2 separate regions of the Homo sapiens genome follow, and region 1 is linked to region 2. Evidence: promoter capture Hi-C in human tissues and cell types (Jung and others, 2019). All regions are on one chromosome and are shown on one strand. Each heading gives the region's core, a stretch centred on a gene start or on the middle of the fragment in contact. The rest is flanking DNA. Distances are from core to core; before and after follow the strand shown. Region 1 overlaps SHANK3 (SH3 and multiple ankyrin repeat domains 3). Region 2 holds the start of PPP6R2 (protein phosphatase 6 regulatory subunit 2).

Region 1 (4,601 bases), core at 1,249-3,748, 370 kb after region 2:
CTGCACCCACCCTGCCCAACACCGTCTACACTGTACCACCATCTGCACTGCCCACACAGCCCAGGCTCCAATGGGCTGCATCCTCTGCTCCCTGAGGGCAGAGTCCAGACGTGATTCCTGGGTCCAGGCACCCACAGGCACTAGTGCCATTGGAGTGAGAGCGTGGGGTGTCTCACCTCTGGCTTAGGAGGAGGACTGGGGGCCCCCAGTGCCCTGGAACCTCCATATTCCCCTCCCTGACCCCCACAGTCATTGTTTGAACGCCAGGGCCTCCCAGGCCCAGAGAAGCTGCCGGGCTCCTTGCGGAAGGGGATTCCACGGACCAAGTCTGTAGGTATGGCTGCGCTGTGGGGCTGCATGGGGTGGGGAGGAACGGGGCTGGGGCCGGCAGGGTGGACTTGGGTTTGAAGGACACTGCCTCTCTCTGCCCATAACTGGGGTTTCCAGTTTCCCTCTCAGTCCTGTCTCTTCCTGGCCCCAGCTAAAGGATCTCATACGTTGATGGACATGTGGGGATTAGGCCTTCCCCAACCCAGAGCTTTCCCCCGGCAGCCGACACTCCCTGTCCAGTGGGCACCGCCCCCCATCGCCTCATCCCTCCCATGGGCAGTCTCATCCCTGTCCCCAGCTGCCACTCCCTGTCCACTGGGCACCCCCACCTCCCCATCACCTCTCATCCCTCCCATGGGCAGCCTCATCCCTGTCCCCAGCTGCCACTCCCTGTCCACTGGGCACCCCCACCTCCCCATCACCTCTCATCCTTCCCATGGGCAGCCTCATCCCTGTCCCCAGCTCAGCTGCCTCCATCGCGGTTGCTCCCTTGCAGCCCAAGTGCATGTGAAGTTTCTGACCCTCAAACCCCCTGAACTTGCCTCTCCCCTACTTCTCCATGTATTGCTGTCTCCCCCCTTCACAGCCAGTTTTCCCCAAAAAGTCACCTCTACTGTCCATCTTGTCTCCCGTCCCCCACCGGCTCCTCAGCCTGCGGCAGACTTCCTCTCTCCATACCCAAATTGAAACTGCTCCCACCAGGGTCACCGGCGGCCTCCAGGGCCTTCCTCCCCATGGATGCATGGCCAGCACTCCTGCTGACCTCAGCTGGCATTTGGTTTCTTTGCTCCTTCTTCCGTGAAACGCTCCTCCCCAAAGCTTTAGGACAACACTTACTGGTTTTCCCCTCCTTTCTCAGATGGCACCTATTTCAACCCTGCCGCCCCAGCCTCCCAAATATGGGACCTTTTCAAGGCTGTGTCTTCAGCCTCCTTCCCCTCTGTGCCTCACCACTCCCCAGCCACCATCACACTCCACACTCACCGTCTCCTTTCCTGACCCAGATGGGGACATGTAACAAGCCCTGCCCACTGTGCATCCCTCCAGACATCCACTCTCCCGTCCCCTGCCCACCTGTGCATCTGTCCACCCACACACCTGCCCACTTGACCGTCCGTTGTCCATACAAACCCCAGCACACCTCCCATCTGTTACACATAGGAGTAAACCTCTCAGCACTTACTACGGGCTGGACACTGAGCATTTAATACTTAGAATAACCATATTGAGGTTGAGACCACTAGTACCTCCATTTTACAGATGAGAAAACTGAAGCAAGGAGGGTAAATGACCTGCCCAAGATCACACAGCTGCCCAAACTCGGATTCCTCACCTGCCTCAGGACCCTGCCAATTTGTGTTCACACAAGGCCGATCCTGGGCCAAGTCTGGGGCTTGGTTAGGGAATGTGACGTGTGCAGAGAGCTCAGCGGGCACATTGTGGGTGCCAGGGCTCACGGACCAATGGAGCCCACTGGGGGGCTCCAAGCACACCTGGTGTCACAGAAGGCTGTGTGTGTCGGGGTGGGGGTACTTTTGAGCTAAGATGTGCAAGATAAATGGGAGTTTCTGGGCGATAATGGGGTGAACTGACAGAGCAGTGTGGAAAAGGCATATGGGTGTGTGACCTGGTCCCTCAGAGACTGCCAAGAGTTATTTCTGTAGGTGGGATTGTGGGGAAGAAGGCTGGTGAGGCTGCAGCTACTTTGGAGCTGAGAAGCGCTCTCCCCTGCTCTCCCTGGCCTAAACACTGAGTGTCTTCCATGGTTTCTTTCTTATCCTCTGCCTCACCTGATGTGTCGGGGTGGGTGGCCTCACAGCCCTGCCCTGCACAGGTCTCATCACCTTGCAGCTGGACCATGGCTTTGTTCTCATGACTGCCTGCCCTGGCTCTGCCCTCTGGTCCATCCCTCTGGCCAAATCAGGCTTTCCGCAGAGCTGCTATCACCCCATATCCGTCCAGCTTGACCCTCTGTGCACTCCTCATTGCCTCAGGGCCCTGGAGATCGGCCCCAGTGCTCTCCTGCTTCATCTGGAAACATTTGTCTCTGCCTCCCTTGACCTGGGTCTTCTGACTCTTGCTGTTCCTGGGCCCGACCCTGCAGGTCTAGGTCCATGCACCTGCCCTGCAGGCCTTGAGCCACTCTCCTAGGACTGCCAGTTCTGCACTGGTCCCTCAGGCACCCTCTTGTACTCGGTTGATGGATGGGTGGACAGGTGCTCCTTTTTGGCTCCTCTTGGCCTGCTGGGCCTCAGCTGCCAGCATGCACATTGGTTGGGTTGTCAGACTCCCCAGGCCCCTGCCCCATGCCCTGGCTCTGTTGCTCTGGGCACACGATGCAGCCCTTGAAACATCAGGATTTTGATCCATAAACATGGAGACCACCTATTACCCACCTCCAAGGACCACTCTGAGTCTCCCCCGGTAGATGGCACTCACAGACCGCGTGGCATGCTGGGAGTGCTCAGCAGCTGCCAGTGTTAGTAGACGTAGATGCTGCCTCTTGAGGTTGGCACACAGTGGGTGCTCGAGAAATGCTCTCTGCTATGACCTAGGCAGACAAAGAGGGTCTGCCTCTGCCCCCAAGGGGTCCCACCCCCGCCCCAGATGGTATCAGAACAGATTCCCCATTCCATGCTGAGGCAAGTGACTTTTCTTTACCCTAAGTCAGAACTTGGCATGCTATTAGCATTAAGTTTCCCCTTATTTCATCTTTGCACGTCACTCCCGCCTTCTGCATCCTCAAGGTGCGCTCATTCTGCGTCGCTCCATCTAACACATAGGCTGTGGGTGTTCACTGCGTGTTCATACACAGTGCAGGGAATGCAGCAGGAGACCCAGGACGAACTGGGCACAATTTCTCTGTCCAGCGGTTGGGGATGGGGGGAAGGCAGACCTAAAAATCACGATGATGATGACCTCGGCCCCCTTCCCCCATTCCCAGGATACTGCTGCAGTTCAGCCCTGCACTGTAAAGGTGAAATCGCCCCACAATAGTTGCAGGCTGTCCTCTTGACATGAGGAAACTGAAGTTCCTAGAGGCTTCTGAAGTTCCTGGCAGATCTAAAATTCAAGCCTAGGTCTGTACACAAAAGCCCACCCTTGGTACCTTGGCTACAAAGAGATATTATGCCCAGCAAGAAGCAGTGTAGTACTGGAGGCCTCATTAGCACTGCGGTGGCTGGAGGAGGATGCGATCAGGAACAGGCAGTCTGTATTTTAGCGAGTTCATAAAAATGTTGACCAATCTCAGAGTGAGGCTGGGAACAGGAGCACCACGAGACCTGGGTGTGTGGGTGTGGGGCCGTCCGCCCCCTGCAGCCTCACTGAACACACCTGCAGCACGTGTGTCCGCATCATGATGTCCACAGGGGTGTTCAGGAGGTTGTGTCAGGTTCTGCTGGACAGCAGGAGCATGAGGGCCCTGAGCACTCCAGCCCCTGCACAGGACCCTAACAATGATGTCTGAGCAAGGCATGCAGAGGGGGGTTACTGAAGCTCAAAGGGGCTCAGGGCCTGGCCTGGGGTCACGCTGCCAGTAGGGGTTAAAATGAAACATGCTGGGTGCTCAGCCTGCAGTTCCATTTTGATTGATCCGTCCGTTCTTCCCTTCACCCACTCACCCATGCGGGTCTCTGGGAGGAGCCTCTCAAGGCTTCCTCCACAGGGCACCTCCTTACCTGGGTGGGCATTAGGTCTTTCTCTGCTGGAGGCCTGGCTCCAGTGGCCACAGCCCTGCTGCCCCTCACCCTGCCAGTGTGTCACTCCTGCTCATTTCCGACTATCTTCCTCTCACCTCTGGTTGCCTCCAGGGCTGGTACTTCTGCGTCGGCCTTGTTGATTCTGGGGTGGGGAGCCCTGTACTGGCCCCTCCAAGCCCCTCAGCAGTTCTGTCCCCATGTCTTGCGGGGCTGTCCCTGCCTTTCTGGGATATCTTCTCAGGGCCTGCTTGATGACCCTGGGTTTGGGCAGGTCTTGGCCCCAACCCAGGCCGTCAGAGTTTGTGTCCTTTCTCAGGGGTCCCCGGTGGGGCCCTCCTCCATCCTGTAACTGAACGCACACCTCTCTCCTGTCCTCTTCACAAGAGCCCTCCCCGTGCAGCCCTGGGCCTGGGGCACAGAGCTTGGGCATCCAGGGACCAGCCCAGACCAGGGTCTTGCTCGGAGCCCGGGCTCTGGGCTCCCTGTTTCTCCCCTGCCCTCCATTCCCCGCCCACCACGGGTCCCAACCCCATCTTCCCGAGCATTCTAGCTCCTCGCGCCGGGTTCTGC
Region 2 (4,558 bases), core at 35-2,534:
GCTGAGCACAGGAGGGGTATCAAGATCAGGCAGAGTTGCACGTGCTCACGGCAGCAGGAGCATCTCCTGCATCTGGTGCCCCTGGCCCCAGTCCCCATTCCGTAGCTCAACTCAGCAGCACCTCCCGCTCCTGCAAAGGAGACCATGGTGAGGGCAGGAGAAGGGCATAGCCTGCTGAACGCAGGGTGTCTCTTCTCTAGGTTGTGAGGCTGAGGCTTTTTCACCCCCACTTCCTGGAAGTTCCCTCAACGGAACCTGCCAGAAATCTGCCCCTTAGGATGCTAGGGGAAAAGCTTTTGCTGGGGAAAGGCTCGCCAGAGGCATCTGCTATAAAACCGGCGAGGAGGGTGCTGCTGACCAGGGCAGGGGACAGGCGTCGGGGAAGCCCGGGGCCGCCAGCCGCAGGGCCAAGCCCTTTTCTCCTGCAACGTCTCTGGCGCCCTCTACCGACAAAGCCTAACAGCGCCAGCTGGCAAAAGAGAAATACCGAATATTTGAGCCGCCCAGATACGCTTTCGCAGAGAGCATCGGTGAATCCTGGGCAATACACTGACAACTGGAAAAAACGTTTAGAGATCCCTTAAGTGCTCCATGTTTTCCCAACATTTACCCACGGCTCGCTCTAACATCTGAAATAATAGTAATCATTTTTGAAATTATTTTGATGGAATTAAACAATTCCAGCACTTGTTAAATAGGCACATACTTAATTTGCAAAACGCCGTGCAAGAACCCGTAGCGCACCTGGAGAAAACTGTCTGGAGGCGGCTCAGGCACTCCGGGTCCAGGCAGGACGCGGGACGGGGAGGGGCCAGGCCTGGCGCCCGGGGCTGAGCCCGCTCCTGCTGCTCGGGGCGTCCACGCCCCGCGGCCTCTGGGAGGGGCCTGTGGCAGGAGGGAGGCCCGGGAGAACAGGCCCTTTCCTGGGCCACGGGGGAAACCCCTGCCCCAGGTGTGTGTCTCTCAAATGCTGCGTCGGGCCACGCGAGGATTGTTTTGTGGCTACAACAAAATTAACTATGCTTGCACAAAACTTTAGCCAATACCTCAAAGGGAAACGTAAAAGGGGAAAGACGCACTCTTACCCCACCCACTCCAAGGCAGCAGTCAGCACACCCAAGCCCTCGTGCTCCCACGCGGGTTTCACCGAGTGCCCCACTCCAGGGGGCCCGGAGAGCCGGCCCAGGTCCCGGCCCCGCCCACCCGCGCGGCCCCGCCCCCGGCCGCGAGCGTGCGCGCCCCAAGCGGAGACCCCGCCCCCGGAGCGCGTGCCCGTGCGCCGCCGCCGCCATTTTGGAGCGATCGGAGTGCCGCCCGCGGCCCCGAGTCGGTCTCGAGCCGCCGGCCGGCCGTGCCGGTGTCCGTAGGCGCTGCGCCCTCGGCCGGGCCCATGTGTGTGCGGCCCGCCCGAGGCCGCCCGGGCTTTGCCTCCACCAGCGCCCTGGCCTCCGCTCGGGCCTCCACACGGGCCTCCGAAGAGCTGCCGCGACGCCCGGCCCGCAGGGCAGGTGAGTGCGGCCGCCCGCCGCTCAGACCCGGCCCCCAGTCTGCCAGTGCCCCCCAAGTCACTTCTCCCCGAGTCAGTCAGTGCCCCCTCCAGATAGTTATCCCCCAGTCAGTCAGTTCCCCCTCCAGTCAGTTCCCCCCAGTCGGTGCCCCCGGAGTCAGTGCCCCCCCCAAGTCAGTCAGTGCCCCCTCCAGTCAGTTCCCCCCCAGTTAGTGCACCCTCTAGTCAGTTCCCCCAGTCAGTGCCCCCTCCAGTCAGTTCCCCCCCAGTCAGTTCCCCCCCAGTCAGTTTCCCCCCAGTCAGTTTCCCCCCAGTCAGTGCCCCCCAGTCAGTGCCCCCTCCAGTCAGTTCCCCCCCAGTCAGTGCCCCCTCCAGTCAGTTTCCCCCCAGTCAGTGCCCCCTCCAGTCAGTTCCCCCCCAGTCAGTGCCTCCTCCAGTCAGTTTCCCCCAGTCAGTGCCTCCTCCAGTCAGTTTCCCCCAGTCAGTGCCCCCTCCAGTCAGTTCCCCCCCCAGTCAGTGCCCCCTCTAGTCAGTTCCCCCCCAGTCAGTGCCCCCTCTAGTCAGTTCCCCCCCAGTCAGTGCCCCCTCTAGTCAGTTTCCCCCCAGTCAGTGCCTCCTCCAGTCAGTTTCCCCCAGTCAGTGCCTCCTCCAGTCAGTTTCCCCCAGTCAGTGCCTCCTCCAGTCAGTTTCCCCCAGTCAGTGCCCCCTCCAGTCAGTTCCCCCCAGTCAGTGCCCCCCCAGTCAGTTTCCCCCCAGTCAGTGCCCCCCAGTCAGTGCCCCCCAGTCAGTGCCCCCTCCAGTCAATTCCCCCCAGTCAGTGCCCCCTCCAGTCAGTTCCCCCCCCAGTCAGTGCCCCCTTCAGTCAGTTCCCCCAGTCAGTGCCCCCTCCAGTCAGTTCCCCCCCAGTCAGTGCCCCCCCAGTCAGTTTCCCCCCAGTCAGTGCCCCCCAGTCAGTGCCCCCTCCAGTCAATTCCCCCCAGTCAGTGCCCCCTCCAGTCAATTCCCCCCAGTCAGTGCCTCCTCCAGTCAGTTTCCCCCAGTCAGTGCCCCCTCCAGTCAGTTCCCCCCAGTCAGTGCCCCCCCAGTCAGTTTCCCCCCAGTCAGTGCCCCCCAGTCAGTGCCCCCTCCAGTCAATTCCCCCTAGTCAGTGCCCCCTCCAGTCAGTTCCCCCCCAGTCAGTGCCTCCTCCAGTCAGTTTCCCCCAGTCAGTGCCTCCTCCAGTCAGTTTCCCCCAGTCAGTGCCCCCTCCAGTCAGTTCCCCCCCCAGTCAGTGCCCCCTCTAGTCAGTTCCCCCCCAGTCAGTGCCCCCTCTAGTCAGTTCCCCCCCAGTCAGTGCCCCCTCTAGTCAGTTCCCCCCCAGTCAGTGCCCCCTCTAGTCAGTTCCCCCCCAGTCAGTGCCCCCTCTAGTCAGTTTCCCCCCAGTCAGTGCCTCCTCCAGTCAGTTTCCCCCAGTCAGTGCCTCCTCCAGTCAGTTTCCCCCAGTCAGTGCCTCCTCCAGTCAGTTTCCCCCAGTCAGTGCCCCCTCCAGTCAGTTCCCCCCAGTCAGTGCCCCCCCAGTCAGTTTCCCCCCAGTCAGTGCCCCCCAGTCAGTGCCCCCTCCAGTCAATTCCCCCCAGTCAGTGCCCCCTCCAGTCAGTTCCCCCCCAAGTCAGTGCCCCCTCCAGTCAGTTCCCCCAGTCAGTGCCCCCTCCAGTCAGTTCCCCCCCAGTCAGTGCCTCCTCCAGTCAGTTTCCCCCAGTCAGTGCCCCCTCCAGTCAGTTCCCCCCCCAGTCAGTGCCCCCTCCAGTCAGTTCCCCCCCCCAGTCAGTACACCCTCTAGTCAGTTCCCCCAGTCAGTGCCCCCTCCAGTCAGTTCCCCCCAGTCAGTTTCCCCCCAGTCAGTTTCCCTCCAGTCAGTGCCCCCCAGTCAGTGCCCCCTCCAGTCAGTGCCCCCTCCAGTCAGTTTCCCCCCAGTCAGTGCCCCCTCCAGTCAGTTCCCCCCAGTCAGTTTTCCCCCAGTCAGTTTCCCTCCAGTCAGTGCCCCCCAGTCAGTGCCCCCTCCAGTCAGTGCCCCCTCCAGTCAGTTTCCCCCCAGTCAGTGCCCCCTCCAGTCAGTTCCCCCCCAGTCAGTTTCCCCCCAGTCAGTTTCCCTCCAGTCAGTGCCCCCTCCAGTCAGTTCCCCCCATCAGTGCCCCCCTAGTCAGTGCCCCCTCCAGTCAGTTCCCCCCCCCCGGTCAGTTCCCCCCCCCAGTCAGTGCCCCCTCCAGTCAGTTTCCCCCCAGTCAGTGCCCCCCAAGTCAGTGCCCCCTCCAGTCAGTTCCCCCCCAGTCAGTGCCCCCCTCCAGTCAGTTCCCCCCAGTCAGTGCATCCTCTAGTCAGTTCCCCCCAGTCAGTGAACCCTCCAGTCAGTGACCCACCCAGTCAGTGCCCCCTCCAGTCAGTTCCCCCCCAGTCAGTGCCCCCCTCCAGTCAGTTCCCCCCAGTCAGTGCATCCTCTAGTCAGTTCCCCCCAGTCAGTGAACCCTCCAGTCAGTGACCCACCCAGTCAGTGCCCCCTCCAGTCAGTTCCCCCAGTCAGTTGCCCCCCAGTCAGTGCCCCCCAAGTCAGTCAGTTCCCCCTCCAGTCAGTTCCCCCAGTCAGTCAGTGCCCCCCAGTCAGTGCCCCCCCCAAGTCAGTCACTGTCCCCTCCAGTCAGTGCCCCTCCAGTAAGTTCTCCCCAGTCAGTGCATCCCCTAGTCAGTTCCCCCCAGTCAGTGCCCCCTTCAGTGTCCCCCAGTCAGTTCCCCTCAGTCAGTGCCCCCCCAGTCAGTTCCCCCCGCAATCAGTTCCCCCGTCAGTGCCCCCTCCAGTCAGTGCCCCCCAAATCAGTGCCCCCAGTCAGTGCCCACTCCAGTCAGTTCCCCTCCAGTAAGTGCCCCCCAAGTCAGTTTCCTCCCAAGTCAGGGCCCCCTCCAGTCAGTTCCCTCCCAGTCAGTCAGTGCCCCCCCAGTCAGTGCCCTCCTTCTGTTCCCCCACCCTACACCAGTCAGTGCTTCCTGCACCAGTCAGTGTCCCCTGCTAGCTAGTCATTG

The links. The method cuts DNA at HindIII sites, captures the fragments that hold promoters and counts their contacts. A contact is called where the count stands out against the background at its distance.
Region 1: a fragment that was not itself captured here is called in contact with the fragment with the promoter of PPP6R2 in region 2 in 1 of the 25 tissues and cell types used here (dorsolateral prefrontal cortex).

Annotation. Positions count from the first base shown.
Region 1 is chr22:50,715,420-50,720,020 of GRCh38, forward strand. It overlaps SHANK3 (SH3 and multiple ankyrin repeat domains 3), which reads left to right. Exons shown (of 25, transcript NM_001372044.2): 23 at 250-334. Among named protein-coding and RNA genes, the nearest start is that of ACR, 20 kb to the right of the region's middle. The HindIII fragment of the contact is 5,276 bases long and covers 1-4,601 here.
Region 2 is chr22:50,342,043-50,346,600 of GRCh38, forward strand. PPP6R2 (protein phosphatase 6 regulatory subunit 2) reads left to right here and starts at 1,285. Exons shown (of 24, transcript NM_001242898.2): 1 at 1,285-1,508. RefSeq lists an enhancer at 1-639 and silencers at 736-905, 1,176-1,455, 1,466-1,545. The HindIII fragment of the contact is 17,181 bases long and covers 1-4,558 here.